3 separate regions of the Homo sapiens genome follow, and regions 1 and 3 are each linked to region 2. The links are contacts of gene promoters, found by promoter capture Hi-C in human tissues and cell types (Jung and others, 2019). All regions are on one chromosome and are shown on one strand. Each heading gives the region's core, a stretch centred on a gene start or on the middle of the fragment in contact. The rest is flanking DNA. Distances are from core to core; before and after follow the strand shown. Region 1 holds the start of MKS1 (MKS transition zone complex subunit 1). Region 2 holds the start of CUEDC1 (CUE domain containing 1). Region 3 overlaps LPO (lactoperoxidase).

Evidence for each region. The method cuts DNA at HindIII sites, captures the fragments that hold promoters and counts their contacts. A contact is called where the count stands out against the background at its distance.
Region 1: the fragment with the promoter of MKS1 here is called in contact with the fragment with the promoter of CUEDC1 in region 2 in 1 of the 25 tissues and cell types used here (liver).
Region 3: a contact is called between a fragment that was not itself captured here and the fragment with the promoter of CUEDC1 in region 2, in 1 of the 25 tissues and cell types used here (liver).

The regions. Positions count from the first base shown.
Region 1 is chr17:58,217,978-58,220,862 of GRCh38, reverse strand. MKS1 (MKS transition zone complex subunit 1) reads left to right here and starts at 1,608. Exons shown (of 18, transcript NM_017777.4): 1 at 1,608-1,712; 2 at 2,134-2,243. The coding sequence starts at 1,633. LOC105371841 (a long non-coding RNA gene) reads right to left here and starts at 1,549. Exons shown (of 2, transcript XR_934884.4): 1 at 804-1,549. RefSeq lists an enhancer at 1,501-1,780. The HindIII fragment of the contact is 13,166 bases long and covers 1-2,885 here.
Region 2 is chr17:57,953,998-57,956,898 of GRCh38, reverse strand. It overlaps CUEDC1 (CUE domain containing 1), which reads left to right and starts at 1,487. Exons shown (of 11, transcript NM_001271875.2): 1 at 1,487-1,674. RefSeq lists a silencer at 1,563-1,632. The HindIII fragment of the contact is 13,236 bases long and covers 1-2,901 here.
Region 3 is chr17:58,256,539-58,259,395 of GRCh38, reverse strand. All of the region lies in intron 9 of LPO (lactoperoxidase), which reads right to left. Among named protein-coding and RNA genes, the nearest start is that of LPO, 19 kb to the right of the region's middle. The HindIII fragment of the contact is 4,431 bases long and covers 1-2,857 here.

The DNA.
Region 1 (2,885 bases), core at 359-2,858, 260 kb before region 2:
TGTTGTGCATGTGGCACAGATTGCCTACTCACAATTTTAAAAGGAAACATTGGAGAGACAATTTCTTAGGAGCTAGAAAGGTGCCTTTTGTTTTATGTTAAAATTATTTCCGGCCGGGCGCGGTGGCTCACGCCTGTAATCCCAGCACTTTGGGAGGCCGAGGCGGGCGGATCACGAGGTCAGGAGATCGAGACCATCCCGGCTAAAACGGTGAAACCCCGTCTCTACTAAAAATACAAAAAATTAGCCGGGCGTAGTGGCGGGCGCCTGTAGTCCCGGCTACTTGGGAGGCTGAGGCAGGAGAATGGCGTGAACCCGGGAGGCGGAGCTTGCAGTGAGCCGAGATCCCGCCACTGCACTCCAGCCTGGGCGACAGAGCGAGACTCCGTCTCAAAAAAAAAAAAAAAAAAATTATTATTTCCCAGGTTGGAAATGTGTGCGTTTATGGAATAAATTGGTAGGTGAGAGGCTGTGAGGCAAACTGGAAGGTGGTTAGGCTTCAAAAGACAGAAGAACTTGGGCTAGAATCCCAGTACTTTTACCACTTGCAAGCTAGCAAGTCCTTTAAACCCTGGCCTTCACGAACTTCATTTTTAAAGTGAATAAAAGTACCTTTTTGAGAGGCTTCTACAAGGATTTGGGACAATGCAAACAAAAGTGCTCAAGCTGCACTAGATCCTAAATAAATGGTGCTATTTATGGTGAGTCGGTGTTACACAACTAGTGGCTATGGCACCCAGAGCTTCCAATGCCAAATCATCAAACTGGCATGAGATTCCCGAGTTCAGGGGACAATTGCTTACTTTGTTGGAGGAGGACTAGATGTGAACAAGGCTGATAAATGTTGACATTCCCAAAGTGCCGGGACGCCAGACGTGAGGTTACAGCATGTCCTTCCTTTGCTAGTACAACGAAGCATGACTTGTGAATGTCACTTTTTTGGCTTTTCAGGAAGCCAGTGCAGTAACAAAGTGGCTTAATGATCCAAAACTAACATACACAAGGTAAGAATCAGTTCAATAATAACATCGTTTCCTTCCTTACTGTTGACTTCCTTGTTTTTTCTTTCTTTGCTCAGTGAATATCAACACAAAGACTAATAAATCTTCTGACACTTTTTTTGTCTTCCAAGAATATATTTTCTTGTCTGGCTAAGGGCCATCACCTTCCCTGACTCCTTTGGGAATAATGGGTGCATTTCTTACAGTCACATCACCCGATTTTCAGGCCAAAGTTTTCACGCGTTGGGTGGAAGGCAGTGTGGCATGGTGGAAAAGGTAGAGGGCGAAGACTCAGGCCACCTGGTCCCCGTCATCATTTCTGCATCTATCTGTCTATATGAAGTGGGCTGATGGCTGTGCCAGTTTCCTCATTTGCACAGCGCACGAGGTCCCGCTTTCGGTGAGCTTTTATCGCATACATGGTAAGCGGTGATCGGTAGGACCCCGGAGCCCTCTTGGGCGTTCGGCTTGGGCTGCACTTGCACTGTGTGGCCAACTGCGACCGTGGCGCCGTGACGGGAACGGCGGGTTGCGCGCGCAGCACCTCCGTCGCCTCCCGATCCAGCGTCTCCGTTGCCAGGAAAACAGAGCGGCGCGCTTTCCGGCGCAGTCGCGGCGCGTCGCAGCTGTCATGGCGGAGACCGTCTGGAGCACTGACACCGGGGAGGCAGTGTATCGCTCCCGGGACCCCGTGCGCAACTTGCGCCTCCGGTAGTCGCACCGCCCCAGCCCCGAGGCCCCATGCTTTTGTGTCCTTAGATCATTCCAACCTGAGCTCGGTGTTCTGAGGTCCCCACTTTCTGCTTACAATCCCGACCACTTCTCCGGGCTCCCCACTTCTTTCACTATCCGTACCCCCATCCACTCACAGCCTCTAAGAACCCCTTACAGACCTACCCAAGTCCATTCACGTCTTTGTTGCTCCCAGTTTCTCAAAGCCCTGTGCCCCCAGTACACCCTCTCCCCTTCATTCTTCCCCATAGGACGGCGCACCCACCCACCTCCTCTCCGTTGTCTGCACCCAGCACACCTTGGCAACCCTACCTCCTCTGTTTTGTTTCCCCCATCCTTGCTTTGTGTTCATCTCCTGGTTGCGTGTCTGGTAACGAATATTTTGGGCTTTTCTTGACAGAGTCCACCTGCAAAGAATCACATCAAGCAACTTTCTTCATTATCAGCCTGCTGCCGAGCTCGGGAAGGACCTCATAGACTTGGCCACTTTTAGGCCTCAGCCAACTGCCAGTGGGTGTTACGGTGGTGATGTGCCATCTAATACTAATTATGATACTAATCAGAATTGTGGCCAAATGTAGTGAGATAACAAATACTATACTTCTGATATGTTATAGAGTTGCCCGGCAACCTACATTCTATTTGTGGCTTTTTTTTTTTTTTTTTTTTTTTTTTTTTTTTTGAGACGGAGTCTTGCTCTTTCCCCCAGGCTGAAGTGCAGTGTCGCTATCTCCGCTCACTGCAAGCTCCGCCTCCCGGGTTCACGCGATTCTCCTGCCTCAGCCTCCCGAGTAGCTGGGACTACAGGCGCCCGCCACCACGCCCGGCTAATTTTTTGTATTTTCAGTAGAGGCGGGGTTTCACCGTGTTAGCCAGGATTGTCTCGATCTCCTGACCTCGTGATCCGCCCGCCTTGGCCTCCCAAAGTGCTGGGATTACAGGCGTGAGCCACCGCGCCCGTCCTATTTGTGGCATTTTTAAAAGAGAAAACGTGCCCCAAACCCTAAATACACATATAAACACTTTTAAAAACAATTTTTAAACTGGAGACTGCTTGCAAAATCTGCATATGATGTGCATGTATAGATCAACTGTGTTCTTGTGGTTTTCCTTATCTGGGAAACCAAAAGAATGAGGAGGAGAGGACAGAGT
Region 2 (2,901 bases), core at 238-2,737:
TAAGGTAATACACTTGATAACATAATCTAGACTATATTGGCCAGGCGGACAAATCCTGAGCTCTCAGTTACAACCTGGGAAAGGAGCCAGGAGTCAGTATAGAGGCATGGGTCTGTCCCTTCGGATTAAGAATCTTTAACCTGGGGCCTGAAGACCATCTTCTGGGATTTCAAGCACCCTGCCTCCCCCGGAAATTGAATGCACCAGGGAGTGAAGTGTGGGGAGAGAGGAGCAGGAGAGAGGAGATCCTCAGAGGGGTTTGGAAACCCAGTCCTGGAGTTCCGTTCAACATGCTAACCTAACGTTGGGCCTCCCCGAGGAGGGTGTGGTTCTGAGGTTTCTCCCCCTCCCAGTTTCCCACCTTGCTGAAGAAACTTGCCCTTGACATGCAAATGATGGAAACACATTGGTGTCTGGGGCACTTTGGTTTGTGGTTTTTACCATCAGCTGTCTCTGAGGCTGAGCGTGTCGATCTGTCTCAGCAAGGCTAGCAAATTGCAAGCGCTCAGAGGAGGGGAGAGGGGGGCTATTCCTGGGGTTCTGGGCCCAGATGGGCAAATGGGTCTGTAAGGCAGACTTTTCCAGGAGGAGGGTGCAGACCCTTTGCAAGTTGTTTGGGGACAGAGCTTAGTTTGCATCTGGCCTTCTTCACCCTCCTCAGATCCCCTAGGTAGCAGGGTGCTTGGTGGTCACCACCTGACCTAGGCTACCTACTCCCAAATTGGAGTCTGAAATGAAAGCACGTGGGAAAAGTATAGCAAAGGTCAGTTTCCCATTTATTAAACAAGTTCTTCCGTGGAAAATCTTCCCAGGGCTCAGCAGCCCTTGAAGTGATCAGGGATGCTGGGGAGGTTGGGGGAGGAGAAAATGGGAGATGGCAGGTGGTATCTGTCGGTGTGGACGAGTGATAGCTTTGATTTGCTCCCCCTTCCCACCATCTCCTGTGTCCTCAGCATTTGATTTGGTTTCCTTTCCGGGGCCCTAATTCCAGGGAGGTGCCCCTCCTCCACACCTGTGTCCCAAGCCCCAGCTGTGCGTCCTCACCCTGGGTTCCTGGCACTGACCTGGAACCTGTCGGGCAGCCCTGCTCTTAGCTCCCCGCGGAGTCTCGGAGGTCTCAGGTCTCCTCCGCCCACCCTCTCCGCAGCTGGGAGGGGCAGGATGCCCCGCACCCCGCTCTGCGCGGGAGGTCGAGGCACCCCGCTCACGCCCTCCTGCCCGCAAGCTAGGGAGTCACTGCGGCCGGGGAGGGAGGTACACGGAGGGCATTTTTCCAGCCTTCACTGGGTGCTCCCCTCTCCACCCCCGGCAACCATGTAGGTTTCCGGACCCCCAGGTCCGCTTCCCTCCTCTCTGGAAAGGGGTCGGCCATAGGGAAAGGGCCCGGGGGCGCCGCAGCCGGGCCCCCGCCCCGCCCCGCCCGCAGCCCCGCTCCTCCCCGCGCGGCCCCACTTGTGGCCCTGCCGGCAGCCGCGCAGGGACAGCTGCATTTCTCGCCGCCCGCCGCTAGGAAGCCGGCCTCGCCTCACTTTCTCCGCCTCCCCGCGCCCCAGCCGCGCCGCCGCCGCCGAGCCTGGCCCCGCCGCCACCGCTGCGGATTGCAGCCCCTCCCCCGCCCGGCCCGCGGCCCGGCCCCTGCGGCCCGCGCGGAGCGGACGCGCGTGGCGCTGCCCGGTAAGACCCCCGCGCTCCCGCGGCTCCCGCCCGGCCCCGGGCGCGGTCCTCGCCGGCGCCCCGCGCGCAATCCCGGCCGCGGCCCCGGCCCAGCGGCCCCACCTTCTCGGGACCCGTTGCCCAGGCGCCGCCGGGAGGGCCGGGCCGTCGCGAGTTTGATTCCCGGGGCTGTCGGCGCGGCTCCCCGGGAGCTCCGCGTGCGGCAGGTCCCCGCCCGCCCTTCCTTCCCGAGCCCCCACCTCATCCCGGGCCCCGGGCGCGGGGGGCGTGCGGGCATCTGGGGGGCCGGGAGCGGGGCGCGCGATTAGACCGGGGGGCGCGGGCCAGCGCCGCAGGGAAGGGAGACGAGGCCTCCCGGAGCCGGCTTCGCCCGAGTCCCCTCTCCCGCCGCTCCCCCTTTTGTGTGGGCGCCCCTCCCCGCAGTGCCCGGGCCTGGGGGCGCAGGCTGGGCGGCGACGGCAGGCGGGGGCGCCTGCTGGGAGCCGAGCGCCTTTCAGGGGGAGGGGAGCTTCGCTTCCTGCCCCCCGCCGATGTCACAGGTCGGCTCAGCCTTTTTTGGTCCCTCCCGGTCCCCTGGGAGCTGTATCTCCCGTCAGCTCGGCCAGGGAAAGTTGGGAATGCGCTGTCCCCGCCCCTGCTCGCCCGCCCCGCCGGCTCCTGTGCCCCAGGCTCTGAGCTCCAAGGGGGGCTGGTGTCAGCGTTTATTCATTCCTCCCTCTTCCTTTTCTCGGTCGCGTGGTCGCCTTACACCCAGCACTGCCCTGCCCATTTCTTTTCCCCTTAAAAAAAGTTTTAGCTCTAAGAAACGTACACTGAAATTAAATTCCTGAGACGGAATGTGTTTTAAGGGGAGGGAGGGTTTAGATTTTCCTTTTTTTGGTGGAGTAGTGGAGTAGAAGATGAGGGGACTCCCTGGGAGTTTAGAAACAAGATGCCCTGGAGGCGATAGAGGATACAAGAAGACCATCCACCGTGCTCCCCACCTGATCCGCAGTCAGCGTCTTGTAGCGAGAGGAATGAGCCTTCCCTGGGTGATCCCGCAGCACCTGAGCCACCTGGCCCAGGAGAAAGGACTCAGGGAGATGTACTGGGCCTTTCACCCCTTTTCTTTATAGCCAGCTGTGCCTGAAGGAGGTGAGGGACCCCAGGAATTCTCTCACGGAGGAAGTCATCTCACCATGTGGTTGGGCCCCTGCTGGATCAAGTGTGAAGCTGGGTCCTCTCTGT
Region 3 (2,857 bases), core at 178-2,677, 300 kb before region 2:
AAATATTTTTTACCAAAGAAACAAAAGCAATTCAATGGAGAAACAATAGCCTTTCAATAAGTGGTGCTGGAGCAATTTGACATCCATAGCCAGAAAAAATTTAAAAAAGCATCTTGACCTAAACCTCACACTTTATGCAAAAATTTACCCAAAATGGATCATAGACTTAAATGTAAAACATAAAACTATAAAACTTCTAGAAGGAAAAAGCAGGAGAAAGTCTTTGGGACCTAGGACTAGGAAAAAAGTTCTGAGACTTGACATCACATGCACAATCCAGGAAAGGAAAATTTGATTAAAAGAACTTCATTAAAATTAAAAGCTTTTGCTCTACAAAAGACCTTCTTAAGAGGATGAAAAAAAAAACCCCCACCAAATTATAGACTGGGAGAAAATCACTGCAAATCACATATCTGACAAAGGACTTGTGTCTAGAATACGTAAAGAACTCTCAAAACTCAACATTACAAGTCAAATAGTCCAATTTGAAAATAGGCAAAATATATGAACAAGTATTTTATTGAAGAGGATGCACAAGTGGCAAATGAGCACAGGAAAAGATGTTCAACATTACCAGCCATTAGAGAAATGCAAATTAAAACAATGAGCTATTACTACACACCTATCAGAAAGGATAAAACAAAAAATGGTGGTGACACCGTCAGGATGCTAAGAAATTGGATCATGCATACATTGCTGATAGGAATGTAAATGGTACAGCCATTCTAAAAAATAGTTTGGCAGTTCCTTTTAAAACTAAAAGTAGAAGACTCAGAGTAGCCAAAGTTATCCTAAGCAAAAAGAACAAAACCAGAAGAATCACATTACCTGACTTCAAGTTATAGTACAGAGCTATAGCAACCAAACAGCATGGTACTGGCATAGAAACAGACACAAAGACCAATGTAACAGAATAGAGAACCCAGAAACAAATCCACACATCTACAGTTAACTCGTTTTCAACAAAGATGCCAAGAACATATACTGGGGAAAAGACAGTCTCTTCAATAAATGGTGCTGGGAAAACTGGATATCCATATGCCGGAGAATAAAACTAGACCCCTATCTTTTACCCATATATAAAAATCAAATCAAAATGGATTAAAGACAAATCTAAGACCTCAAACTGTGAAACTACTGCAAGAAAACATTGGGGAAAATCTCCAGGACATTGGTCTGGGCAAAAATGTCTTGAGCACTATCCCACAAGCATAGGCCACCAAAGCAAAAATGGACAAATGGGATCACATCAAATTAAAAAGCTTCTGCACAACAAAGGATACAATCAACAAAGTGAAGAGATAACCCACGGAATGGGAGAAAATATTAATTTTGCAAACTACCCTTCTGACAAGGGATTAACAACCAGAATATATATGAAGCTTAAACAACTCTATAGGAAAAAAATCTAATAATCCAATCAAAAGATAGGCAAAAGATTTGAATAGACATTTCTCAAAAGAAGACATACAAATGGCAAACAGGCATATGAAAAGGTGCTCAACATCATTGATCATCAGAGAAATGCAGATCAAAACTACAATGAGATATTATGTCACCCCAGTTAAAATAACTTATATAAAAAAGACAGGCAATAACAAATGCTGGCAAGAATGTGGAGAACACATTTGGCACTGTTGGCAGGAATGTAAATTAGTACAACCACTATGGAGAACAGTTTGGAGATTCCTCAGAAAACTAAAAATTGAGCTGCCATATGATCCAGCAATCTCACTACTGGGTGTATACCCAAAAGAAATAAAATCAGTATATCAAAGAGATATCCGCACTCTTACATTTGTTACAGCACTGTTTACAATAGCTAAGATTTGAAAGCAACTTGTGTCCATCAACAGATGAATGGATAAAGAAAATGTGATACATATACACAATGGTGTACTATTCAGCCATAAAAAAGAATGAAATCTAGTCAATTGTAACAACATGGATGGAAGTGGAAATCATTATGTTACGTGAAATATGCCAGGCAGAGAAAGACAAACATGGCATGTTCTCACTTATTTGTGGGATTTAAATATCAAAACAATTGAACTCATGGACATAGAAAGTAGAAAGATGGTTACCAGATCCCTGGAAGGGTAATGAGGGGCTGTGGGGGGCGGAGGTGGAGATGGTTGGTGGGTACCAAAAAATAGAATGATGGCCAGGCGCGGTGGCTCATGTCTGTAATCTCAGCATTTTGGGAGGCCAAGGTGGGTGGACCGCTTAAGGTCAGGAGTTTGAGACCAGCCTGGCCAACACGGTGAAACCCTATCTCTACTAAAAATACAAAAATCAGCAGGACGTGGTGGCAGGTGCCTGAAACCCCAGCTACTCAGGAGGCTGAGGAAGCCTGGGCAACAGAGCAAGACTCTATCTCAAAAAAAAAAAAAAAAAAAAAAAAAGAGTAAGACCTACTATTTGATAGCACAACAGGGTGACTATAGTTAATAATAATTTAACTTAATTGTGCATTTTCAAATAACTTAAGAGTGTAACTGGATTGTTTGCAACTCAATGTATAAATGCTTGAGAGGATGGATACCTCATTCTTTTTTTTTTTTTTTTTGAAAGGGAGTCTCACTCTGTTGCCCAGGCTGGAGTGCAGTGGTGTGATCCTGGCTCACTGCAACCTCCGCCTCCTACCTCCACCTCCTGGGTTCAAGCGATTCTCCTGCCTCATCCTCCCGAGTAGCTGGGACTACAGGCGCATGCCACCACACCCAGCTAATTTTTGTATTTTTAGTAGAGACAAGGTTTCACCATGTTGGCCGGGATGGTCTCGATCTCTTGACCTTATGATCTGCTCACCTCAGCCTCCCAAAGTGCTGGGATTACAGGCATGAGCCACTGTGCC